Regions from separate parts of the Homo sapiens genome. Here region 2 is linked to region 1. The links are contacts of gene promoters, found by promoter capture Hi-C in blood cells and fetal thymus (Javierre and others, 2016). All regions are on one chromosome and are shown on one strand. The core of a region is centred on a gene start or on the middle of the fragment in contact, and the rest is flanking DNA. Distances in the headings are between cores, read along the strand shown.

The links. The method cuts DNA at HindIII sites, captures the fragments that hold promoters and counts their contacts. A CHiCAGO score of 5 or more calls a contact.
Region 2: a contact is called between a fragment that was not itself captured here and the fragment with the promoter of TNFRSF19 in region 1, in 6 of 17 cell types (M2 macrophages, M0 macrophages, fetal thymus and 3 more). The highest score is 7.4, in M2 macrophages.

What each region holds. Positions count from the first base shown.
Region 1 is chr13:23,567,089-23,572,565 of GRCh38, reverse strand. TNFRSF19 (TNF receptor superfamily member 19) reads right to left here and starts at 2,154. Exons shown (of 10, transcript NM_148957.4): 1 at 1,718-2,154. RefSeq lists enhancers at 3,719-4,230, 4,231-4,743. The HindIII fragment of the contact is 1,879 bases long and covers 2,146-4,024 here.
Region 2 is chr13:23,825,793-23,831,269 of GRCh38, reverse strand. All of the region lies in intron 14 of MIPEP (mitochondrial intermediate peptidase), which reads left to right. Among named protein-coding and RNA genes, the nearest start is that of PCOTH, 60 kb to the left of the region's middle. The HindIII fragment of the contact is 506 bases long and covers 2,341-2,846 here.

The DNA.
Region 1 (5,477 bases), core at 905-3,404:
GTGCTGAGGAGAGCCTGTATTTGTTAAAATGATCCTAGTAGCAGGATAAACAGTCATTTTAAAAATTTTAAAATCCAAATCTGAACTAAATGAGCAAGTTTCAGACACACTATTTCTTTAGGCACCATCTCCAGTCATTGTTTTAAAAGGCTAATTTTCTTTATCTGAATGTGAACATTAATACCACTTTTGTGATTAAAAGGAAGATTTTAAGCAAACAAATTAAAAAAAAATCAAACTAAACCGATATTGCAGGATATTGTGAACATGATTTGTTGTACTCTTAGAAAAAAAAAGCAAATGCCTCTCCTGGCATGACTAAAAACAGCAGTTAAATCTTTAAGATTAAGTTATTAATGACACACTTTAAAAATATAATCAGTTTAGCATGGCTTTAAATAACCTCCACTTAACAACTAGCAAAGTTTTAAAATTAAATAAACAATGCTAATTACCCTTCTAGTATCAAGAGGAAAGTGTAGAAAGTAATTTAATTAATTGGCTGTGAAAAATTAATTACTTATGAAATGAGACTCATTAGACCTTTCCTGTTTCATCAGAATTTCAGACTAAAGGATAACTGGTCTTATCACTTATGGTTTCTTTATGGTTCAGCTAGCATCAAATAGACTTGTGATAATAATTAAATATTTTGCCCAGATAAATTTAGGACTAGAACATTAAAAAAAAAAACATCGCGAACAAAGTAACAGTGTTACTTTTCCATTGTATTTAGTTTTTATATTTCACTGTAAAGATTTTACTGTGTGTGTGTGTGAGCGTGAGTGTGTGTGTATCATGAACTGACAAAAAAATAACAGTTAACTTTCAAATTCGGTACAGCAATATAATTTGGTTTTGTCATGTTGGGCATTAGCTAAAGTGAAAATGTGACTAAGATACTTTATGTAACATAATAACTGTTGATTACTCAGATAGTTTTCATAAACAGTTGGCAAATTTTGACTTAAAACAGCTGTCACTATAAATGTAAAGTAAATGTTAATTTAGGAATATTAACCTTGTGAATGTTTCTGTAAATAAGGCTTATGCTATTTCCAAAGGTTATAGAAAATCACTGGAGTATTTTTAGCCAAACTTAGTGCAACTTTATCCTCACTGTTTTTAAATTCTTCAGTTTTACACATAAAAGTCTTTAATCATACTTGATGGTTTTTCAGTGATTCCCTTGAGTGTACAAACTGCATAAGGAAGTGTATTTGATAGATTTACATCTTGGAAGTGAGAGAATAAATAAACTAAAGAAACAGTATTGCCAGAGATACATTTTACTCTTTTATATAAGAAAACAAAGAAAGCATTTTCAACAAGCAAAGTTGCACTGACTGTTTACTAAATAAGGTAACCTGTAAATACTTAGAGCAATTATAGCTCACAGATCTCAGGGGTTGAAGTACCAGTTGCATGCTAAAGTGAGCGCTGTTCTGTTTTGTCCTGTTTGTACAACTCATTTCCAAGTAAAATTTGTATGACAGACTGCAAACCCTCTTGTACAAACTACTAAAAATTACATCAAGTTCCATAGTTACTCTGATACACACATTCAGCATCATGTAGTATTCAGCTGTATAAATGCTTTCTAAAAAATTAATTAAAACCATTCTTTTCTCAGAACACATGCGAAAAATGCAGTGAAAGCTATAACAAAGCTTAAAACAGAGTACCTGCAACATGCTGAGCTCTTTGCAGTACTTACCCGTTCAGCAACTTAGTTTCTCCTGGCAGCACTTCTGTGCCAAATGCTTCTACCTTCCCAAAAATGTATGTCAGCACAAGCCCAGACGAAACTTCAAATCCAGGAAAATAAAATTAACCATGCAGATCAAAGGCAGACGAGCAGGGAGATGAAATGCCTGTAATCTGATCAGTGAATCAGTTGCTGAACATCAAAGGCAGGGCTGAGTTTATATATATGCATGGATATCAAAGAAAGTTCACTTTCAGCAGGTAGTTACCCTCCCACCTCCTAGTCCACAGACTCTTTTGTTAAACATGGATCACGTTGTTTTCCTCCTCTTTTTTGCAATGAGGCAATGCTGGTAGTTCTCCCATGCTTGGGCTGAGTGGCTGGATCTGTAGCTTTTTTGGTTCCCAAGCTGTGTTGTGGACTGTGTGTTGGAAGCTTTTCCTAGTGCCAGCGGGTTCTGCTTTATCCCTTTCATCTCGCTGAACTGCAGATCCCATGACATCATTCAGCGCCGTGGGACTGGTAGGAGAGCTATAATTCAGCCTGTGGGGGAGTATAGCTCAAGAGAAGCCAGAGTTTGGCTGATTTCTAATCATGTTAGACTATTGTGCCTCACACAGGACAGTTTCTGTTATCTGTCTGCCAGCTGGAAAGGACAGCAACTGCTGCTGGATGCTTCTTGGGTGATAAGATCCCTGATGGATGGACGTGCCAAATGACAGCATTTAATTGCCTCTTCGCTGATAAAAATCACAATTTCCTACAGAGACTGGGTGTCAAATATTCAGCATAGTTAAATAGCACTATGAGACCACTCTAAAAAACACCCAAGGACACTGCCAGATGGACCGATAACATTTTCACATTTTGATTCCAGTTTTCAAAGTGACAAGTCTTTAAGGATTTTAAGGAAACTGCCCTTTCTTTGAAACATACATTATTAGGATCTGATTACCAATCAAACCGGGTTGTGTTAAGTAGTTAAGCAGCAGATAACCAACAATTCATGAATAAACTGCCATCTTCCACTGGCTCACTTAAGACTTTGGGCGGAGACTTAATCTCAATCTTTGCCTTAGTTCGGGACTCTGGAAATTAGATTTTAAAGCAATATCTACTTCTTAGACATATTTCATTAATACTTGTTGAGCATTTTAAAATTCACAAAAGAAGAATTATGTAGAACAAAGCATTTGCCCTGTGATTATTCCAAAGCCATGTTATTTGCCTTTTAGGGCTGTTTCTTCCGAACTCATAGTTTGGACTTTCAACTCACTAAAAAATTACCACCTTAGCCTAATTCTTCGTATTTTAAAATTAAATATATTGCTCATTATTTAAAAATTTTAAGCTATTTTCCTTAACAATGTCAGATTCAATACAATATGATTATTTTATTTTGAGTATTTAGTAAAATAGAAGATAAGAAGAAGTTTCATCTTCCTTGAAATCCAGGATATGGTGCTTTTCTGATTTTCAGACAGTTCTTTCATGGAATGAAGACAATTTTTCTATTTTATAATGGAAACTCACTAACTTTTAGAAAGTAAGTTAAAAATATTTTTGCAAAACTTAGGGGATAGTAGAACTCAGTCTTTTTCAATGTAACTTCCCTCCTTAACTGGTTTTGTCTAATTTTTCCTGACGCGATATTTGAAAACGTTATTTATGAAGTGTTTATTTCCAGATTTCTATGATTCTTGAATAATTTTAATAGCAAAATATTTAGTTTGAACTGTTCATAAGTTCTGTATAACATTTAAATAGTCCTGTTGATTTTTCCATGTTTCTTGTATAATTTTTCTACTTATACATCATTTCTCAAAAATGCACAGGGCTCAAATAGTATTTGAACTGGCAGGTGTGATGCTTAAGGACTTCCTTAAAGCAGACCAGGAAAATTCCTGTGACATCTGGGCTTCACATACGTTTCCTGGGCATCTTGAACCCATGAATACAAAGAAAATATTTACAAAGACAAAATATTTACAAGAAGGCATGTGCCCATTTCTTTTCTGAGGTAGTCCAAACCTACCACCAGCATGGAATCCATATGCCAACAGCCTGCACTCAGGATTAAAGTTTCCCGATACACTGATATATTAAATCAGAGCAACTAGACACTCTGTAAGGCTCATTGGCTAAGCAAGTAGATTTTATGTCTTTATAGATTTCAACACCAGTAGAAATAGGTGAAGGACTGAATTCGGGTTCTTGTGTTCCACTGAAAAACATACAGGAGGCACTTGAAAGCAGGGACTTGAATGAAAACCAATCAAATGATCTTCAATTTATACAAATCTCCCCAAGCAAGCTTTGTAGTTCAAGATACATCCAACAATGCAATACCATCTCCAGTGGAAGAGTTTATTCACCAAGTCACTGGATATTATTTTGAATTGGTCCTCTTGTGGCCAAGAACTCCCCATATGTGAGATGAAAGGGGACTGAGGCTAGGGCCCCATCTGTCGCCTGGACCAGAGTGTGGCTAAAGGTCGGCCTGGCTGCAGGAGTGACCTCTTGACCTGCGGCTCATTTAGCACTGTGCCCAGCCAGCCGAGCCCCCTTCGTTGTGAGGTGTGGCCTGCACCATTGTTGTTTCTGAACAGCACCAGGAAGGGGAGCTACTACAAAGCTTTTCTCTTTCCCCTTCAAGAAGCTTAGATTAGTGTGATTAAATCAGTGTGATACAGTGGTGATAAGAGATCCAGCACTCCACTCGACATCATTGTCCGTTGTCATGACACCAAGTTACAGCATTTGATCAATGGTTCCTGTGCCATGTTGCAGTACACTTGGCTCATCTTAGTCTTTTTGTCAAGCTGCCTTTCAGCGACCTGGTTCTGCAAAGTGGTTGTGGCAGCCATTGGATCCACAGTGGGGAGCTCCAGGCTACACTTTAAAAGAAGTGGTCAGTGTTTGAGATGACGGGCATGCCAGTTACCCTGATCTGATCACTATACCTTATAGGTATAGAAATGTCACTAGGTGCCCAGGGATATGTATAATTATTATTAATCAGTTAAAAAATAAAATAAATGATTGAGAAAACTTCAGTTGTTCATATCCAAGAAGGGAGGGGCTGCCTGAGATTCCTGATGGGGAGTGGGGTCTCATGTCACCCCCAGTCGCCACCATGTGCTATTTTCTTCCCAAAACTTGGAGCGTGGTTCCTTTGCTCCTTTATCTTGACAGGTGGATGCCATGAATTCTCACCATTTTAAGATATAGATCAGGTGATAACACATTTTCCCCATAAAGTTTCATAGTTTTTTGAGTTGTCTGCATGTCTTTTCTAATGCCGTCTTTTCTAACTTTTCTGTTCAGAGGATATATCCTGGATTAGATCAGATAAACACAGATCTATTACATACATTGAGAGGAATAATTTCTGCATTTGTTTCAACTGAACACTTTTTAGAAAATGAAATAGCTCATGGTTATGAAAAGAACACGGATGCTGGAGTCAGAAAGGCCTATGTTCAAATCCCTCTTACTACCTGTACTTGAATAACAGCTTAGGCAGTGTGGACGAAGGCTACCTAGTCCCACTGAGCTTTTTAATCCTAAGCTGCAGGAAGGGGATAACACCTACCTCATTAGTGTTGCCAAAATAACAAACTTATTTCGAAAGCATCAGGCAGAATAAACCCTCAACAGAAGAGCTAAGGTTCCTTTCTTTTCTCTGTAACTATTAAAATGCCAACATTTTAGCTAGGGGATCCAATTCAAACTTCAGTATTCTAAAGGGGCAGGACAGGCTCTCACA
Region 2 (5,477 bases), core at 1,344-3,843, 260 kb before region 1:
TGTCTGTGCCCTAGATTTGCAATTTCTTCACATCAGGTTTTAGGTAAATTTCTGAAAATGAGCAAAAGTCTGATACTTTTACCTTTCCTTTGCATTTCTAAGGTTCTGTTCCCATCCCACTTTCTCAGACTGAATTTTCCCCAGATGTGTGAATATATGTGTCCTAATTGACTTAGCCCAGCCCCTGAGTAGTCCAGATGCTTGGTTGCCCCACCCTTTCCCCTGCTTCACAGTAGCTGCCTCTGTTCCCTTTTGTCCTCAATTCCTCAGTTTCCAACTAACTCCTCCACCCCTACAGAAACTGCCACTATCCTTATCTTTACCCACAATATCCCTTTGTCCTCAGCATATTGCCTGGAGCTGGGCTGCCAGTCCCAGTGTGTTTGATCAATTTTGGAGGGCCTGTTTTACAGTGATGCTGATGAACTAGAAACCATCCTGAGGGGTGGCTGCTGCTTATTTGTAAAATTGGAAGCCACTTCACATTAGGAGGGGTTTAAGAAAAGACATTTTTAGACTAGAAAAATGAAACTCAAGTCTTTCATATACCATTTGAAGGATACCATGTAAAGGAAGAAAGTCATTCTAGGAAAAAACAATATTACTAGGAATAGTGGAAGGGAATTCTAAGGAGGCTCATTTCAGTTCAGGAGATTCTTCTTGTAAATGATTAGAGCAGAAAGAGATGCCTCTCCAAGTAATGAATTTCTCTTTTATTTAATATTTAATGTTATAACACAGTATTTGTAGAAAGAACAGCTATGAAGCCATTCTCCAACCTGAGAAGTAAAACATTACCACATGCTCTTCTCTGAACCCATCTCTGCCCCGCTTGCCTCCCAGAGGAAAGCATAGTGCTCAATTCTTATCATTTTTTGGCCACATTATTTATTCCTAAGAAGTGTGGTGTTCAGTTTTTTGAACTTTACAAAAATGGTATTTTACTGCTTATAATCTTCTGTTATTTAAAAAATATATATTTTATGCCTAAGATTAATCTGTGTTGCATGTAGCTGCAGTGTATTTATTTCAATTGCAGATAATATTCCATCATTTATTTACTCATTCTCCTGTCATGGAGCACACGTGGAGCACACAGGTTCTTCCAGGTTTTTGCTAGTTCATGTGATACTGCTGTGAACATTTTTATACTTTCTTCTGTATATCCATGTATAAGATTGGAACTGCTGGATTTGTAAGGGGTGCATGTCTTTAAGTTTATGAGATAATGCCAAATTGTTTTTCAAAATGTTTCTGCTAATTTATACTCCTCTCAGCAATGGTTTCTATCGTGCAGCATCCTCATTGACTTTTAATTTTGTCAAAAGTTTTAATTTTGCCCATTTTGTGATTATAAAATGAAATGCTATTGTGGTCTTAATTAGCAGCAGTGTTCTCTGATTACTTTTAAGGTCTTAATTAGCAGCAGTGTTCTCTGATTACTTTTAAGGTTTTTTATTTATTTATTTTCTGTTTTGTTTTGTCTTGTTTAGAAATAAGGTCTTGCTAGGTTGCCCAGGCTGGCCCCTCAAACTCCTGGGTTCAAGCAGTCCTCCTGCCTCAGCCACCCAAGTAGCTGGGACTACAGTCATGTGCCACTACACCTGGCTTATTTTTCGTTTTTGTTTTCTGTCAGATGTCTTTTTGTCTCATGCTCATTTTCCTACTTGGAAATTTGTCTTTTTCTTACTGATTTTCAGAAATTCTTGGTAGTTGAAATAATAATCCTTTTTAGGCATATGTCTTGTCTCAGTTTATGGCTTGTGTTTTCACTTTCCTTTTAATATTGTTGGATTTATCAATCTTGTCTTTATAGTTAATAGTTTTTATATTTTTTTTCTTTTTTTGAGACAGAGTCTTGCTCTTTCGCCCAGGCTTACAGGCATGCCACCATGCCCAGCCAATTTTTATATTTTTTATAGAGACAGGATTTCACTGTGTTTCCCAGGCTGGTCTCAAACTCCTGGCCTCAAGCAATCTTCCCACCTCAGCCTCCCAAAGTTTTGGGATTACAGGCGTGAGCCACCATACCCAGCCTCTTCAGTTTTCTTCTAAACATTTTAATGCTTTCTTTTCTCTTTCAATTTTTAATCAAGTTGGAAATTCTTTCTGGGTTTGGCATAAGGCGGGAATCCATTTTACTTTCTTCCGTGTGAGTAACAAACTGTCCCAGCACCATTTAGTGAGTAATTTACCCTTTCTTCAGTGCCATTACTCATGTACATGCAATTGTCAGTTTGTGGGATTCTCTTTCATTCCATTGTTTAAGCTGTCTGTCCTAATATCAAAGCCATGCTGTCTGTATTACTAGAGCTTTGGAATAAGTTATAGTAATAAGCTTACTATTATTAATAAGTAATAATAAGCCTTGATATCTGGAAGGATAGGCCTTCCTCGATTTGTTCTTCAAAATTTCTTGTCTACTCTTGGACCTTTGTATTCTTTCATATACATTTTAGAATCAGGTTATCTAATTTTTGAAAAATTCTGGTAAGAGTTTGATTGGGATTACATTAAATTTCTAGGCCAATTTGGAGAGAACTGATATCTCTGAATATTGAATCTTTGAATCCATGAATATGGCATATCTCTCCATTTCTTGGGTCTTTTCAAAAGTCTTTGAATACAGTTTTAAAATTTTCTTCCAGGGCCTTGGTCAGCTTTTGTTGGGCTTCGTCCTGGATGCCCTTCCTTTTTGATACTATAAGCAGTATATATATTCAGATTGTTTGTTACTGGTGTTTAAAAATGCTGTTTGTCCATTTTTGTATAGTGCTCTTGTTTACAGCAGCTTTGCTAAACTTTCTTATTAATTCACAGAATTTGTCTATAGACTTTTACAAGCTTTTTTAACCAGATAATTACTTCTGCTAAAAATAATGACAGCTTTATTTTTCCTTTCCAACCACGTATCTTTTCTGTTTACCTTGTTCTACTCCACTTATGAGAGCCTCCTTAATGTTGAGTAAAAGCCGTGGTATGGGCATTCCTGCCTTGATCCTGGTGTTTAAAGGAAATGTTTTTAATACGTCACCGTAAAGAAAGATGTTTGTTATAGGTTTGTTGGAGATATCAGGAAAAGGAAATTCCTTTCTATCTCCAGTTTGCTACTATTTTTTTAAATCATTAATGGGTATTGCATTTTATCATAGTTTTTTCCTGCATCTTTTGAGCTGTCAGATTGTTCTTCACCTTTAATCTGTTAATGTAGTGAATGTTAATGTTAAACATTAGCCACCTTTGCATTTCAGGATTAAGCCACCTTGGTCCTAAATAATAGTTATTTTTTAATGCAGAGCTGGCTTTAGTTTGCTAATTATTTTATTTATTTATTTTTTTGAGACAGAGTCTCCCTCCATCGCCCAGGCTGGAGTGCAGTGGTGCAGTCTCTGCTCACTGCAACTTCCACCTCCTGGGTTCAAGTGATTCTCCCGCCTCAGCCTCCTGAGTAGCTGGGATTACAGCGTGTGCCACCACACATGGCTAATTTTTGTAATTTTAGTAGAGGTGGGGTTTTACCATGTTGGCCAGGCTGGCCTTGAGCTCCTGACCCCAGTTGATCCACCCACCTCATAGTTTGCTAGTTTACTAATATTTTTATATTCTTGATTTTTGCATTTATGTTTATGAGAGAGGGATTGCTTATGATTTTTCTTTGTCATTATTTGCTGGTGTTCACTTAAATATATACTATTTCATAAAATGAGTTGGTGAGTGTTTCTTTTTCTTTTCTTTACAAGCATTTATTTATAACATTGTTATCATTTGTTCTTTAAAACTGTCGGAATTCATCTATGAAACCATTCAGGGTCTGTTGTTTCCTCTGTGGGAAGATTTTTTAAATGACTGAATCCTTACTAGTCATAAGCCTCTTTGGGCTTTCTTTTCTTCTCAGATAAACTTTGCTACTTTGAAATTTTCTAGACATTTATCAATTTGAGCCAAGTTCTTCAGCTTATTCACATAAAGTTACTTATAGCATTCTTTTATCCTTCAAATTCTGCTATAATTGTATCCTTTTTAATTTCTAATTCTGTTTTCTCATTTTTTTCTCTCTGTTAATCTTGGCAGAATTTTGTCCACTTTATCACTGTAATCTCTCAGTGTCTAAGCAGGATTGGTTCCTGGGCCACTACTCCCCGCCAACGTGGCTACCAAAATCCTTGGATGCTCAAGTCCCTTTTATGAAAGGGTGTAGTATTTGCATTTAACCTGTGTACATCCTGCTGTATACTTTAAATCATCTCTAGATTACTTATAATACCTAACACAATGTAAACGCTATATAGATGCTGTATTGTTTAGGGAATAATGACAAGAAAAAAGTCTGTACATGTTCGATACAGATGCAGTTTTTTTCCAAATATTTTTGACTCATGGTTGATTGAATCCATGAATGTGCAACCCTCAGATATGGAGGGCTGACTGTATTTTCAAAGAACCAATGCAAACTTTGTTTATCCTATTTTGTTTGTTTCAGTTTGTTACTTCCTACTTTTATTATTACTCTCTCCTTCCTCCATCCTTGTTTTTTTCTTCTGATTTCATAGGCATTTATCTAATTCGGTTTCTGTTTTATTTAACATAAGCATTTAAATTTTAATGCTTTAAATATTAAATGATGTGATGAAATGTTTTAGCTGAATTCTGTGATTTTAATACAAAATATTTTTAAAGTTGGTAATTTCCATTGTAATTTCCTCCTTAAGCAAAGACTTGTTTAGAGCTATAGTTTAAAAGTTTTAAACCTTTGCAGGGGAGTTATTTATCTTTTTGTTTCTGATATCTAATTAATTGGTCTATCTGGTATTGATTCTTTGCAGTTTGTTAATATTTATTTTATGGCTTCATGTGTCATCAGTTTTTTAGAAATGTTCCATCTGTGCTTGAGTAGATTGTATATTTATAATTGTTGGGTCTGCGGTTTCATACTAGTCTGGTAAGTCAACCTTTTAATTGTATTGTTTAGATCTTTGATATAACTAATTTTTTGATATAGCAAAAATTTAGAGGTATAAGTCTTCTACCATGAGAATGATAGATATATAATTTCCCCTTAGTTCTATCCATTTTTGCTCTCTATATTTTGAGAATATTTTATTAGATGCATAAAAGCATAGTTTCCCCGATGAACAATTCCTTTCTTCCTTATATGTTATCCTCTTAATCTTTATATGTTTCTTGTTTTAAAATCTTTTTTTTTTCCTGGTAATTTTGCAACCCCAGCTACATTACTAATCACCAAATATAGCCAATTGATTTTTGAGAGAACCTGATATTTTTTGTATAGTTGTGTCTATTAGCCACTACACTAAAATGTTTACTGCTCTAGTTGTCTTTCTCACTGAATATTTTTAAAGCGATGTTAAGAGAAGTTAATACTCACTCTCATAATTTTTTCTTATTTAGTCCTTTCTGGCAGTCTGTGAAGTTGATGGTTGGTACCTAGTTGTCCACACTGTATGGACTAACTGTAG